5 separate regions of the Homo sapiens genome follow, and regions 1, 2, 3 and 5 are each linked to region 4. Evidence: promoter capture Hi-C in 16 types of primary human blood cells and fetal thymus (Javierre and others, 2016). All regions are on one chromosome and are shown on one strand. Each heading gives the region's core, a stretch centred on a gene start or on the middle of the fragment in contact. The rest is flanking DNA. Distances are from core to core; before and after follow the strand shown. Region 1 has its middle 19 kb from the start of GSDMC. Region 2 overlaps ASAP1 (ArfGAP with SH3 domain, ankyrin repeat and PH domain 1). Region 3 overlaps CYRIB (CYFIP related Rac1 interactor B). Region 4 holds the start of CYRIB (CYFIP related Rac1 interactor B). Region 5 holds the start of GSDMC (gasdermin C).

Region 1 (2,700 bases), core at 20-2,519, 210 kb before region 4:
TTTTCCTACCTATTGAGGGTTCACCTGTCAACTTCCAGAGGCACTGCACAATGTCCAGCACCTGAGGAGATGTGTAATTCAGAACAAATAAGAAGGTGTTCTTCCCCAACTCTTACTCTTTTCCTCCTGCCTTATATCCCAGGAAACTGTTGGATTGATGGACCGAGAACCATTATTTCTGGAGCAGTGCATAAGAGAAGGGAGAACCTGTATGTGGTAACAGAGGCCACAGAACTGATCAGCACTCCTGTGCTAAAGGACAATAGCAGTATGATTGATTTCAGCAAATGTCCATCCTTGGAATACTTATGTCAAGATACAGAGCCACTGACTGAGTGTTGTGGCTCACACCTGTAATCCCAGTAATTTGGGAGGTCAAGGTGAGAGGACTGCTGGGGCCCAGGAGTTCAAGATCAGCCTGATCAAATGTGGCAAGACTCTGTCTCTACAATTTTTTTTTTAATTAGCCAGGCATGCTGGTACATCCCTGTAGTCCCAGCTACTCAAGAGGCTGAGGTGGGAGGATCACTTGAGCCCAGAAGATCATGGCTGCAATAAGCTGTGGTAGTGCCACTGTACTCCAGCCTGAGAGACAGACCAAGATTCTGTTTCACAAAAAAAAAAAAAAAAAAAAAAAAAAAAACACAGAGCCACCCTAAAGTGGAATGGGGATACCAAGAGCAAGCCAGCCCAGCCTCACTTCCAAGAGGGGACTGGATCCTAATCAGGACCTGTTTCTGGGAGGTCAGAAGGGGTGGGGTAATTATTTCCCACTTCTTGGGTGCCATGAAAACCTGACTCCTGTCCTGAGACTATATTCTAACATTCTCATTTATAGTGCTTTAATATATGAGATTATTCAGTATTGATAAAATTGAAAGTCAATTTAATTATGTGATACTACATTTTGCTTTGGGTAAATGATGGATTCTAGAAGATCTAAAGGGGTGGCTGCTATATTACCTACATGTTTGGTTTTATAGCTGGAAAAAAAAATAAGGAACCAACAGCAACAAACCTTCACAGTTAAAGTACCCTAAATGCTATAACATCCTGAGCAGAAATGTTTTATGGCATGAGACTGAAAAATCTTCAAGCACATGTGATTTACCTAAGTCACTCACAATAACCAACTATAATATTTTAAATTAACTTAACCAAATGCATTTATCAAATGTGTATTCACTTAAAGAGTATGCTAGGGACATAGAAAGTTTGTGAGTGTGTGTGTGTGTGTGTGTGTGTTACAATATTAAATAATATGCAATGTATTTTATGTGTCATTTGTCTGCACTTAAGAGCTTTAGAAACTAAAGAAAAGTAACTGGGAAGTGAAATGACCTTCCCAAGTTTAGTTGGTGAGTTACTCCTAGAAGAGGACTCGCCAAGGTTTGTGAGTTAGTCCCGCAAGAGGCACAGGCCCCACTGAGGTCTTTTGATTCCAAGCCCCATAAACAAAGGCACTTAAACCAAATAAAACATCACTCTCGTTTGAGATTGCTTTGATACCTAGCTTTAGGTTTCCACCTCCTTGAAATGGTGGACTGGGCTTTGTGAGAAGGAGGCAGAAGCCCTGTATTTTTCACACAGGGCAGCTGCTCAGCTGAAGTGGTACACTTTGGTTCTTTTCTCTTCTGTGTGTATTTTCCATAGGTATTTTCTTTTTTTTTTTATTATACTTTAAGTTTTAGGGTACATGTGCACAATGTGCAGGTTTGTTACATATGTATACATGTGCCATGTTGGTGTGCTGCACCCATTAACTCATCATTTAACAAAATATCTCCTAATGCTATCCCTCCCCTCCTCCCTTCCCCCACCCCACAACAGGCCCCAGTGTGTGATGTTCCCCTTCCTGTGTCCACGTGTTCTCATTGTTCAATTCCCACCTATGAGTGAGAACATGCGGTGTTTGGTTTTTTGTCCTTGCGATAGTTTGCTGAGAATGATGGTTTCCAGCTTCATCCATGTCCCTACAAAGGACATGAACTCATCATTTTTTATGGCTGCATAGTATTCTATAGGTATTTTCTTTGTGGTTATTACCACAAGGATTACATAAAATATTTTATAACTACAACTGTGGATTATAGGCTGGTAACAATGTAACTTTAATTGGATAATAAAACTCGACACTTATTTCTCTCATCACTACACTTTACATTCTTCATGTCAGAGTTTATGTCTTTTTAAGATATAACATCTTTGTCACTCAGGCTGGAGTGCAGCAGCACGATCACAGCTCACCACAGCCTTGAACTCTTGGGCTCCAGTGATCCTCCTGCCTCAGGATCCACAGTAGCAGGAATTATGGGTACACACCACCACACCGGTTAATTTTAAAAGAATTTTTTAGAAGTGGGGTCTGATATGGTTTGGAATGCATCCCCTCCAAATGTTGAACTGTGATCCCTAATTTGGAGGTGGAACTTGGTAGGAGGTATTGGATAATGAAGGTGGATCCGTTGTGAATGGCTTAGTGTCACCAGGTTGATGATGAGTGAGTCCTCACTATTTGTTTACATGAGTGCTAGTTGTTTAAAAAGGCCTGGCACCTCTTCCTCTCTCTCTCTCTCACTTCCTCTCTCACCATGTGACACACCTGCTCCCCCTTTACCTCCTGCCATGAGTAAAAGCTTCCTGAGGCCTCACTAGAAGCCAAGCAGAAGCTGGTGCCATGTTTATACAGCCTGCAGAATC
Region 2 (2,700 bases), core at 187-2,686, 190 kb after region 4:
AATTTTACATTATGTCCAAAACAGGATGTCCATATCTTTTGCGAGGAGGTACAGCATACTCTAGAGCACGGGTCCCCAGTCCCCAGGCCACGAACCGGTACAGGTCTGTGGCTTGTTAGGAACCAGGCCACACAGCAGGAGTGAGTTGCGGGCTATTGAGCGAAGCTGAGTTCCGCCTCCTGTTAGATCAAGGGCAGCATCAGACTCTCATAGGAGACGGAACCCTACTGTGAACTGCATATGCAAGGGATCTAGGTTGCACGCTACTTATGAGAATCTAATGATAAATGTAATGTGCTCAAATCATCCCGAAACCATCCTCCCGGCTACCCTCTTGTATGTGGAAAAACTGTCATCCACAAAACCGGTCCCTGGTGCCAAAAAGGTTGGGGACCGATGCCCTAGAGCAGACCACCTGGGTTTGAATGCTGAATCTGAGATCTACTTAATGCTCTGTGACTCAGTTTGTGAGCTCTTAAATAAGGGTAACTATGGTTACTACCTGGTAGGGCTGCTGTGAGGAGTAAATGAGGCTACATACAGATGAGGCAGAGGATAATGCTCACCAAATACTCCCCTTTCCAGGTCTCCTGCAGCTCCTGCTCCCTCCCATTTCCAGGTCTCCTGCAGCTAGGTAGGTGGGGCCAAGATCACAGTTCAAACCAATGAACTACAACACCTAGGAAAGCTGTGAAAAGTATGCATACGCTTCTCTAGTCTCTCTCTTCCCCTGTAGAGAAGGGGGAGCTTCCATGCGTCTAAGTCTCTGAGTTGCTGTTGCTAAGCAGAACAGATCCCTTCAGTAGACATGTCACACGAGAAGAAAATAAACCATGTTAAGCCATGGAGATTTGGGGGTTCATGTATTACTGCAGTATATCCTAGCCTATCTTAACCAATAAAACATGTAAAGTACTCAAAGTGCCAGTGCCTGGCATACAGTCACCACAGTATAAAGACAAGCTCCTGTTATCAGAATTACTTGTATAGTAAAAGTTAACCATAAAAATAAAAATAATGAAAACTTCACCTGCCTTAAGGCTGTGAGGGTGAGACCAGCTCTTTTATCAAAGAGATATTGATTAGCAAAATGTTAGAGACAGCATAAAGCATTCCAGTACCAATCATTCTTAAAGTTCAATCTTTTCTTATGGTCAATGAAACTTTGCTCCAATAAGCGATGGTTTTTCTTCTCCCTTCTCCACTCTCCCTTTTCCTTCTTCCTTCCTCTCACATAGAACCAAAACTCTATACCAAATGTAAGTGAAATAATACTAGACAATCACGTACACATATCGCGTGCATACACCCTTTAGACAAGTGCTATGAACAACATGCAAAAGCCACAAGCTGAAAATGCAATCCTATTTAAAATGTATTATTTGAAATCCTACCTTGAAACACTGAATGTGAATCCTTATAAGAAAAAAAAAAAAAAAAAACAAAAACCATATTCAAATTCAGCCTGAGGTATATATACACTAGGATACCTGTTTATTGGATGTATTTAAGACAAGGTATACCTGTATTGACAAACAGAAAATTCAAATAATCAGTTATGGTACAGATATACAATGAAACAGTATGCAGCCTGTTAGAGCAAATTTGCATATATATATATAAAATACACGGCTTTTTTTTTTTTTTTTTTAGCTTAAACTCACTTAATAGCAAAACCTGTTCTGACTCCATTTGGTTGGTAATCTCTTGACTAGACTTGAGGTGGGGCACCTAATAGTCTTTATATATCAGACTTCATGTGAATATTCAAGTTTCACTGCAGACACAAAACTGTGTTTAATTATAAGCATCTTCCCAAGAAGTCACTAGGGGGTGTGCTGCATAATATAAGGCATGTACACCCTGTCACCCTTCTGAAATCGGTAAAACTCTGAATTTTGAAACAAATCTAACCCCAAGGATTTTGGACCTGAATGAGATATATACCTATACCTGCAGATATCTATGCAAATCAGCAGTATCTCTGTGTACAAATCCATAAAATTGTTTCAAATACTACTCTTAAATATTAACAGAAGCTAGAATTATAATTTTTATTTTAAAATTTTCCATATATCTCAAATTTTTATAATAAATATGTATGATTTTTTAAATAGAAGGAGTTAAAAATAAACCTTTCCCTCTTACCCACCCACCAACCCACATGGATAGATCACATTTCACAAAATGTCCCACAGTATTAATTGGTAGTGAGGCAGTGAGGCATGTCAGGAAATAAGGGGATACCTGGTAGATCAAACGCTGAAAACTGCCAATGATTGATGACCATTTTTTTAAAAGATAAGGTTTTAAAAATGCATTATATAGTTCAGGGCACCCAGAAGCTACCAATTTTACCATTAGGCACATCCATGCTCTCCATACTTTTTAACATTTCAAAGAAGAACTTGAGAAATAATCTGCTGGCTACAAATCTAGATCCAACCTGTACATTATCAGATATTCTTATTTGAGGGGAAAGAAAAGAAGAAAAATAAAAAAAAAAACAACTTTAACACAAACCACAATACCCTACAGTCAGAGATTGCAAACAGGAAATGCTATGCAGATGGAGAAATCTTTGCTTTGCTTCAACAGCTCTGAAGCAATAACTGCCCTCCAACTGTTTAATGAGACTCAAGCTCTTATGCAAGCTATAGAATTGTCCAAAGGCCTCCGGAGAGAAGAAACCAGATGCAT
Region 3 (2,700 bases), core at 53-2,552, 150 kb before region 4:
GAAAACCTCTTTGATTTCTTTGGATGCTAAAGGGTCCTATTATGAGAAATCACTTGGTAGAATCTCTCTCCATCGCTACAGTAAGTCCTTTTCCCATATATGGGAAAGTAATCCTCAGGCCCTTGGTTAGTCAAACTTTTGTGTTCTTAAAATCATTTAAAATCAATGCTCAGATTCATGTATGTAAAACGACAGATGATGAGGAAAATAACTTGTGGACAAAAATGGTCTAAATGAATTAAAAGGCCAGGGTTGAAAGAAGATTAACTATAATCTTACAGTCTAACAAGCTTGCTTTACTTATAAAACAGATACTAAGCCAAATTCAGCATTATGAACATAAAAAAACTCTAAACTTCTGGAATGAATAAACATCTTTTTCACTAGGGAAGTCACAATTACAAAACTTTCAACTTACCTAACCTCTGAGAAAATTCGTAAAATTTCTTTAATTTGCCTACTAGTGGAACAACTGCACCCCATGCCTTCTCTTGCAACTTCTCATCTGCTGGATGCTGGATTGCCTTCAAAATCCAAAGAATAAAAATAGTTAGAGTTAAAAAAAAAAAAAGGTTCATTTTTACATTAAAATGTAGGCTTTAGCAAACATAGGAAACACTGGTATAATCCATAAAATATAGAATATTGAATCTAGGAGTGTTGAATATTTTTTTTTTTGAGAGAGCGTCTCACTCTGTTGCCCAGGCTGAAGTGCAGTGGCGTGATCTCGGCTCTCTACAACCTCTGCCTCCCAGGTTCAAGTGATTCTCCTGCCTCAGCCTCCCAAGTAGCTGGGACTACAGGCACGCGCCACCACACCCAGCTGAATTTTTTTATTTTTAGTAGAGATGGGGTTTCGCCATGTTGGCCAGGCTGGTCTCGAACTCCTGACCTCAGGTGATCCACCCACCTTGGCCTCCCAAAGTGCTGGGATTATAGGCGTGAGCCACCACGCACGGCTGAGTGTTGAATATTCTATATTGAGTGCTAAGGGTGAGTCTTCTCAACTCCACAGACACTCCATAGGAGTGCTAAGAGTGGGTCTTCTCAGCTCCATAGATACTTCAACCTTAGTTAGATACATAACTAACATAATACATTCTTAGTTATCCTTGCAATAGATATGAACATAATGAAAATTTAAAAATGATCCAATATGTTTGTTAAATATTTTATGCCTTGGTGCCCAGCAGATCCACAAAAAAAAATATTGCATATGTTTCCCATATCACAGAGTCTCTTAGTATTTCTTTGTCAAAGAATTATTTTAGCAGTAGAAAAGAAAACTCAAAAAGTAAGACAATAAGATGCCAACTCTGGGAACAGGCTAAGAAATTTCCAATAATTAAAATTCCAGGGTCTAAACTAGCATTAAGAAAACTACCTACGACTTAAGAACCTAAATCAAGCTGAAACTGTGATTTAAGAATTGTCAGCTGGGCGCCGTGGCTCACGCCTGTAATCCCAGCACTTTGGGAGGCTGAGGCAGGCGGATCACAAGGTCAGGAGTTCGAGACCAGCTTGACCAATGTGGTGAAACCCCGTCTCTACCAAAAATACAAAAATTAGTCAGGTGTGGTGGTGTGTGCCTGTAATCCCAGTTACTCAGGAGGCTGAGACAGGAGAATTGCTTGAACCCGGGAAGTGGAGGCTGCAGTGAGCCGAGATCATGCCATTGCCCTCTAGCCTGGGTGATAGAGCGAGACTCTGTCTTAAAAAAAAAAAAAAGAAAATACAAAAAAGAAGAATTGTCACAGATACTTATTCTCTATAACTAAAATCCTATCCTATTCTAGATAATAACTTTTCTCAGGCTTTCCTGAGTAAGATGAAAAACTAGTTTCAAATCTGAAAGGGAAGAAAATATAATCTAGAGATCCTTAATATAAATGACTTCTTCTATACCCAGTCTTTCAAATCATTAAGTAATCTTTTCTGAATAGAGGGTTATTTCCAAAAATACATATTTTTTTGTCTTTATCTTTCATTTGCCCATAGATGTTTTTTGTACTCCTTTACAGAAGTTAACATGTTCTTCAACAACCTGATTTACTTTCTCTAACATCTTGAAACAAACTAAACATACCATCTGAAATTCAGAACTAAAGCAGGGACCTGCTTATAAACACTACCAAGAGGTTATATGACATGTCTCAATACTCCCAAGGCACTAGTATTCTGACTCCATCCACACAAAAAACAAAAATTCAGGAAAGCAAAATAAAATTGAACCCAGACAGATCTAACGGATGCTCTGAACAAATTAGCTGCAAACTGAATTAATGGGCTATATACTGGTTAAGCAATTTACTTTACAAGCTTGGCACCATTTTCAAATTGATGTTTTATTCAATATTTTTAAATGATGCTTAAACCCATTAGAAGCCTGAAGTCAATCCTACTTATGTCATTAATCTAGAAATATTGTAACATTGAAGAAAATCTGACATTACAACATGTAACAATCCTTTGTTCACATTCTATAGTAATGAGAACATCTCAAAGAGACCTTGATATGCTGATATAGATGAAAAAAAATCCTTTGGCCGCAGGCCCAGACTTGGTAATGATTTCTATCAGGTAGTAAAAATTTGTTTCTTGTATTTGTTATTCAGCAGACAAGTAAATAAGCCTTTCTGTCTGGTGGCAGCCATCAAATAAGCCAAGATGGGTACACACAAGTCCATCCAGGAGGCATGG
Region 4 (2,700 bases), core at 132-2,631:
GGCAAGGAAGCCAAAATGTGGAAGCACACCGACTCACCTCTCAAAATTCACCACCCACTCGTTCATCTCACAATTATCTATGGGGTGCTTCCCACGTGCTTCAACGCACCCTTTCTAGGTGCTGGGGATGCAGAAATTCAAGGTGACTGGCAATGACACTTTCTATCACTGCGCCCCCTGCAGGCCAGGAAATCTACGCTCGTTTTCTCAAGGCCCCACTCGCAGCAGCCCATTTCACAGACGGGACCCTAAGACTCAGAGAGGGTAAGCGACTTGCCCAAGGTCACACAGCTAGTAAGCGGCAGGGCCAGGAATTAAACATAGCTGCAAAGTGCATGTGACACTCCCCCGCAGCCCCAGCTCTATCCCTCCGCACCCCTCCACCTCTTGCAGCAGGGTGGGTAGCAAAGGCACACTCCAAGTAGCTCCAGCATGGTAAGACCTCGATTCCTCCTTCGTTCCACTCCTGACACAGGACACACGTTTCAAAGGACACACAGGTTTTTCCCAACCCCAGTGTGTGTGTACACAGCCCCAGGAAAGCCCTGCAGGCTGCAAGGGCACCCACCCGCTAACACTGAACTTCCATTTAAAAAGAAAGATAATGAAAAGATAAAAGGCGAAGAGGAAGTGCTCTTTAAACACAGGCGGGTGGCTACCCCAGGAGGAAGTCTTGAGGCCAGTGGAGATTTTGTTCACCCCCTCTAGTTCCTCAAATCCAATGCGACTGGTCTTCCAAGCCCCTGATGGGAGGTGGCCGGGGGCCAGCGCTGCTCCCGGGGTCAGTCCCCGCACCGACACCCGGCTCGCAGGAAGGGTCTGCCAGGGACCAGCCACCCCGACCCGAGCGCCCCCTGCCTCGAGGCGCACAAGGCGCCGGCTCCGCAGCTGGGTGGACCCGGGCGGCGGCCCCGCTGCGCGCTCCCCTCGCGTCCGCCCGCCGCCCCCCGCGCACTCGAGGCGCCTCCCCCGGGACCCCCGCGCCCGCCGGCCCGGACGCCCCCACCACGGCGGCGCCCCCTGTCCACCCGCCGCAGCGCCCGGCCCGGCGGCCCGGATGGTACCTCCGCCTCTCCCCGCACCCATCACGCGCGCGCCCCGCACCCCGCGCCCTCTCCGGGGGCAAATCGGATCCAGGGGCGCGCGCGCGGGCCGGCCGGGCGGCGGCGCCTTCAGAGCCCCGGCACGTACCTGGCGGCCCGGGCGGGCGAGGGGAGCGCGGCGCGGGAGCGCAGGAGCCTCGGAGCCTCCGGTGCCGCCGCCGCCGCCGTTTCCGGGTTGGCGGGGCTCACGTCACCGCCACAGGTTTGCGAGCTGCCCCCGCCGCGGCGGCAGCAGCAGCAGCAGCAGCAGCCCGGGCGAGTGCCAGGCGAGAAATAACTATAAAAGGAAGAGGCGCGGCGAGGAGGAAGAGGAAGCGCTGTTTACCTTCGAGAAGCCGAGCCGCCGGCGCTCGCACAAAAGGAGGACGCTCGCCTCGCGACGCGCCTCCCCCCGCGCCCAGTCCCCGCCGCATCGCGGGGCCCCGGCGTCAGCGCGCGCCGCGCCCCGGGACCGCCCCGCGCCGGCCCCCACCCCAGAACCCCGCGCCCGCCTGGCCCGTGTCCTCCCGAGCCGGGGCGCCACGGGCCCGGGACGGTGGTGACCTTGGGCAAGTCACCGCGGGGCGCGCTGCGATTGGGGGTCATCGCCCTCATTGTGCGAGGAGGAAACCCGGCTCCGAGAGGCGCAAGAGTGACCCCCAAGGTCACTGCCTGTCAGGCAGGGCTTGGGCTCGAACCCCGGTCTCCAGACCTTCAGGCCGGCCAGGTTCCCATCCCTGGGTCGCTTCCCCCTCACCTGGACTTCAGGAATGGTGACAGCCCCTGCCTGGCTCACCTCGCAGCGGGGTCAGTGAGAGGAATGCTGTCCACGCACCCATTCAGCCCTCCCGCAGATACTTACTGGGCCTACTAAGTGCCCGGGCTGTTCTAGGCCCTGGAGCTGCAGCTGCGAACCAAAACAAAATCCCTGCCCGGGAGGGGCAGCGGGGACAGGCCGTAAATATCTGATGGGTCCTATGGTGCTAAGTGCTGTGCCAGAGGAAAAATAAAGCGGGGTGAGGGGACGGTGCGGGCTGTCGGTGCTACCCTAAGCGGTTCTCCAAGGACTTTAAATTTAGTACAGAAATTCCCACATAAAAAGCTCCTCGCCATAATTCCAGTTTCAGGTATTATGGGAGACCTCATCTTTCCCCTGATCTAGAATGGAAAATACTGTGTTTTTCTCCCTGTAACAGGACATGCCTAGGAAACTGATACTCTCCTTCCCTCTGCCTTGCTCCCCTGGCCCAGAAGCCCATCCTATCATTATCTTGACATTCAACCAGAAATTTCTCGGGAAGATAGACAACATTCTCTCAAGTATCTTTCTGCTGTCCTCTAGCAGGGTATCAAAAGGGTTACATCAAAGGCTTCCATTGTCTTTCCACCTCCACCTCCAGCTATAGGGGGGTTGGAGTGTGCTCACATCATACTCAGTGCTGAGTTACCTGATTAGGAGCCAGTTGTTCCATTTCTTTTCTTTTTTCTTTCTTTTTTTTTTTTTTGTCTAAGACAGGATTTTGCTCTGTTTCCCAGGCTAGGTAGCGCAGTGATGCGATAGCTCACTGCAGCCTCAAATTCCTGGGCTCAAGCGATCCTCCCACCTCAGCCTCCCGAG
Region 5 (2,700 bases), core at 136-2,635, 230 kb before region 4:
TTCGCAACAACATAGAGGGGACTAGAGGTCATTAAGTGAAATAAGCCAGGCACAGAAAGACAAACTTTACAATGTTCTCACTTATTTATGAAAGCTAAAAATTAAGACAATTGAAGTTATGGAGATAGAGTAAAATGATGGTTACCAGAGGCTGGGAAAGATATTAGGGGGTGGGAGGGAGGTGGGGATGGTAAATGAGCACAAAAAAAATAGTTAGACTGAATAAGATCTAGTATTTCTGAATAAGATCTAGTATTCGATAGCACAACAGGGTGACTATAGTCAATAATTGTACAGTTAGAAATAACTAAAACAGTATAATTGTATTGTTACAATTAAGAGTATAATTGTATTGTTACAATTATAACAAATAGGAATAGGACTTCCTAACTACATGGAATTCAGTTTTTGAACTTTCTAAATATGTTCAATAATGAAGAGAGACAGAATTTTCAACAGTTCATGTAAAATTCCTGATGTGACCATTTCAATTCTCTGATATGGGCCATGTAAGAGGTCACTGGACAAGCAGAGAATAATGAGAATATAAGATGCTTCTTTAAGACTGGACCTGTGCAATAATGTATCGAAGATATATTCCTTAGCCTTACATGCTATCAGGAATTCTCCATTATTAAGACGAACTTAACTTCCTTTTCAGTCAAATTCTGTAGGAAAAAAAACTCTTCGACTCATTTCACAAACCCATCCAGAACATTTTTGTCGCTGATGATAGTAATCTTTTCTTTTTCATCCCCTGATCCCATTAGGACTTACCAGATTATATATCCCTTTGTCCTGTAGAGAAATAGCAGGATTGGCCGGGCACGGTGGCTCACGTCTGTAATCCCAGCACTTTGGGAGGCTGAGGCCGGTGGATCACGAGGTCAGGAGTTCAAGATCAGCCAGGCCAAGATGGTGAAACCCTGTCTCTACTGAAAATACAAAAATTAGCCAGGAATGGTGGCAGGCACCTGTAATCCCAGCTACTTGGGAGGCTGAGGCAGAGAACTGCTTGAACCCGGGAGGCAGAGGTTGCAGTGAGCTGAGACCATGCCGCTGCACTCCAGCCTGGGCAACTCCGTCTCAAAAAAAAAAAAAAGAGAGAAAAATAGCACAATTGAGTAGGGCCCCTTCCAATCTTCAGACCTCCTGCGGTCAAGTAGAAATTGTCAGACAAACTCCAGGACCAGATCAATGTGATTCTGTTCACTGTTCTCTTCTCACCAATGGGTCCCTGACTCAATTTCCAATGCAGTATCCTGGAAAAATAAGCACAGGAGGGCCCTGTTCATTTCCAGAAGAGTAAGTCTGGAACTAGTTCTGGATCACAGAACCTTAGCTCTCAAGTCCTCAGCAAAAAGTCTGTGGAACAAAATCAAGTGGCATCTAATTATGTATCTCCTGAATCAGAATTAAAAAGGCTTCCTCAGAGTCACACCCATTTCCTTTCACATACAGAACTAGCTGAGCAAGTCTTTGATTCATGGATTCCCAGCAACTCTAGCTGGAACAACTTCTTTGGCTCGTATTCCTCTGGTATATGTGCTGAATTTAGAATTCAATCACTGGACACCAGGAAAGGCAACTTCAGCAGGAGGGACAGGCACTAGCGCCAGGGCCCTGGGAAGCACCTCTGAACTGCCTACATGTGGGGCTCTGTACAACAGGAATTACTGTGCTTAATGCCTCCTCTGTGTTAAGCACCATGCATGTATTATCTAAATCCAATCTTACAACAATCTTTATTTTAAATATAAATAAAAAGGGGATTTGTGAAAGGAATTAAAAACTTGCCTGAAACCCATGTCCTTTCCAATTACTCCCTATGGGTTTCAAGATGAAGTAAAGTGCCTATAGGAGCAGAAACTGTATAAACAGGATTGCTACACCTTTAAGTTTTGAGTAACTTCCTGGAACTGACACTCAATACAGCAACATTCCTTTCAGCTGACAGTATTTCACAATGCATTTACTTTACTTTTGTTTTCTTTTAATATTCATAAAAGTCTTATGCCTTCCCTTTCCACTGTAAGAACCTGATATGCACTTCACTTGGGACAAAGCTCAGACTGTGCTTTCTGCATATCACCACCAGACACGATGTTCCAAATTAACTTTCACGTTCTATAATTTCCATTGTAAAAACTATAGACTTGAAATATAAAATTATAATTACATACATAACCCTTCTGTGTACCAACATTCTATAGGCCCCAACCTGCTATTGGGTATTCCAGAAGTCGGAGAAAAGTAACTTAGCTGTTTGGGAACAGTTATGTGAGTCACACCAACCTAAATAACAGATAAAGAAAAGCTCTCTAAAAGACAGTGATATTTATTCAAGAATGAGCATTGCAATGGGAATATGCGTGCCATCACAAACTATGTGTGTATTCAGACAGGTAAGGGAAGAAAAAAGTTTTAAAAAGAAAAATAAGAAGGATTACACAATTGTTTTGAATCAATTCTTTGCTTACAAGGATCAGTAACAAAGGTGGCACCAGTCCAAGGTTAGACAGGCAGTTGGTGGACAGATGTCCTGGCAGAAGTATTTTTTGTTTAAGGTTGCAATAGCCTTTGTGCAAAGCTGTAGTTTTTAGTTTTGTTTTGTCTTTAATTTTTATGGGTACATAGATGTATATATTTATTTATGGGATATATGGGATATTTTAATACAGGCATACAATGTATAATAAT

Evidence for each region. The method cuts DNA at HindIII sites, captures the fragments that hold promoters and counts their contacts. A CHiCAGO score of 5 or more calls a contact.
Region 1: a contact is called between a fragment that was not itself captured here and the fragment with the promoter of CYRIB in region 4, in 1 of 17 cell types (neutrophils). The highest score is 5.2, in neutrophils.
Region 2: a contact is called between a fragment that was not itself captured here and the fragment with the promoter of CYRIB in region 4, in 1 of 17 cell types (neutrophils). The highest score is 5.0, in neutrophils.
Region 3: a fragment that was not itself captured here is called in contact with the fragment with the promoter of CYRIB in region 4 in 11 of 17 cell types (non-activated CD4 T cells, total CD8 T cells, naive CD8 T cells and 8 more); the score reaches 13.2 in non-activated CD4 T cells.
Region 5: a fragment that was not itself captured here is called in contact with the fragment with the promoter of CYRIB in region 4 in 1 of 17 cell types (neutrophils); the score reaches 6.2 in neutrophils.

Annotation. Positions count from the first base shown.
Region 1 is chr8:129,804,246-129,806,945 of GRCh38, forward strand. No RefSeq gene overlaps it. Among named protein-coding and RNA genes, the nearest start is that of GSDMC, 19 kb to the left of the region's middle. The HindIII fragment of the contact is 2,729 bases long and covers 1-2,634 here.
Region 2 is chr8:130,203,959-130,206,658 of GRCh38, forward strand. The region is part of intron 5 of ASAP1 (ArfGAP with SH3 domain, ankyrin repeat and PH domain 1); the gene reads right to left. Among named protein-coding and RNA genes, the nearest start is that of ASAP1-IT1, 91 kb to the right of the region's middle. RefSeq lists an enhancer at 1-905. The HindIII fragment of the contact is 6,359 bases long and covers 1-2,700 here.
Region 3 is chr8:129,861,811-129,864,510 of GRCh38, forward strand. It overlaps CYRIB (CYFIP related Rac1 interactor B), which reads right to left. Exons shown (of 14, transcript NM_001353258.2): 7 at 419-524. It also overlaps the pseudogene RPL15P12. Among named protein-coding and RNA genes, the nearest start is that of GSDMC, 77 kb to the left of the region's middle. The HindIII fragment of the contact is 2,029 bases long and covers 289-2,317 here.
Region 4 is chr8:130,015,179-130,017,878 of GRCh38, forward strand. CYRIB (CYFIP related Rac1 interactor B) reads right to left here and starts at 1,382. Exons shown (of 14, transcript NM_001353258.2): 1 at 1,192-1,382. RefSeq lists silencers at 675-944, 1,135-1,324, 1,415-1,484, 1,535-1,594. The HindIII fragment of the contact is 5,812 bases long and covers 1-2,700 here.
Region 5 is chr8:129,785,234-129,787,933 of GRCh38, forward strand. It overlaps GSDMC (gasdermin C), which reads right to left and starts at 1,391. Exons shown (of 14, transcript NM_031415.3): 1 at 778-1,391. The HindIII fragment of the contact is 4,714 bases long and covers 1-2,700 here.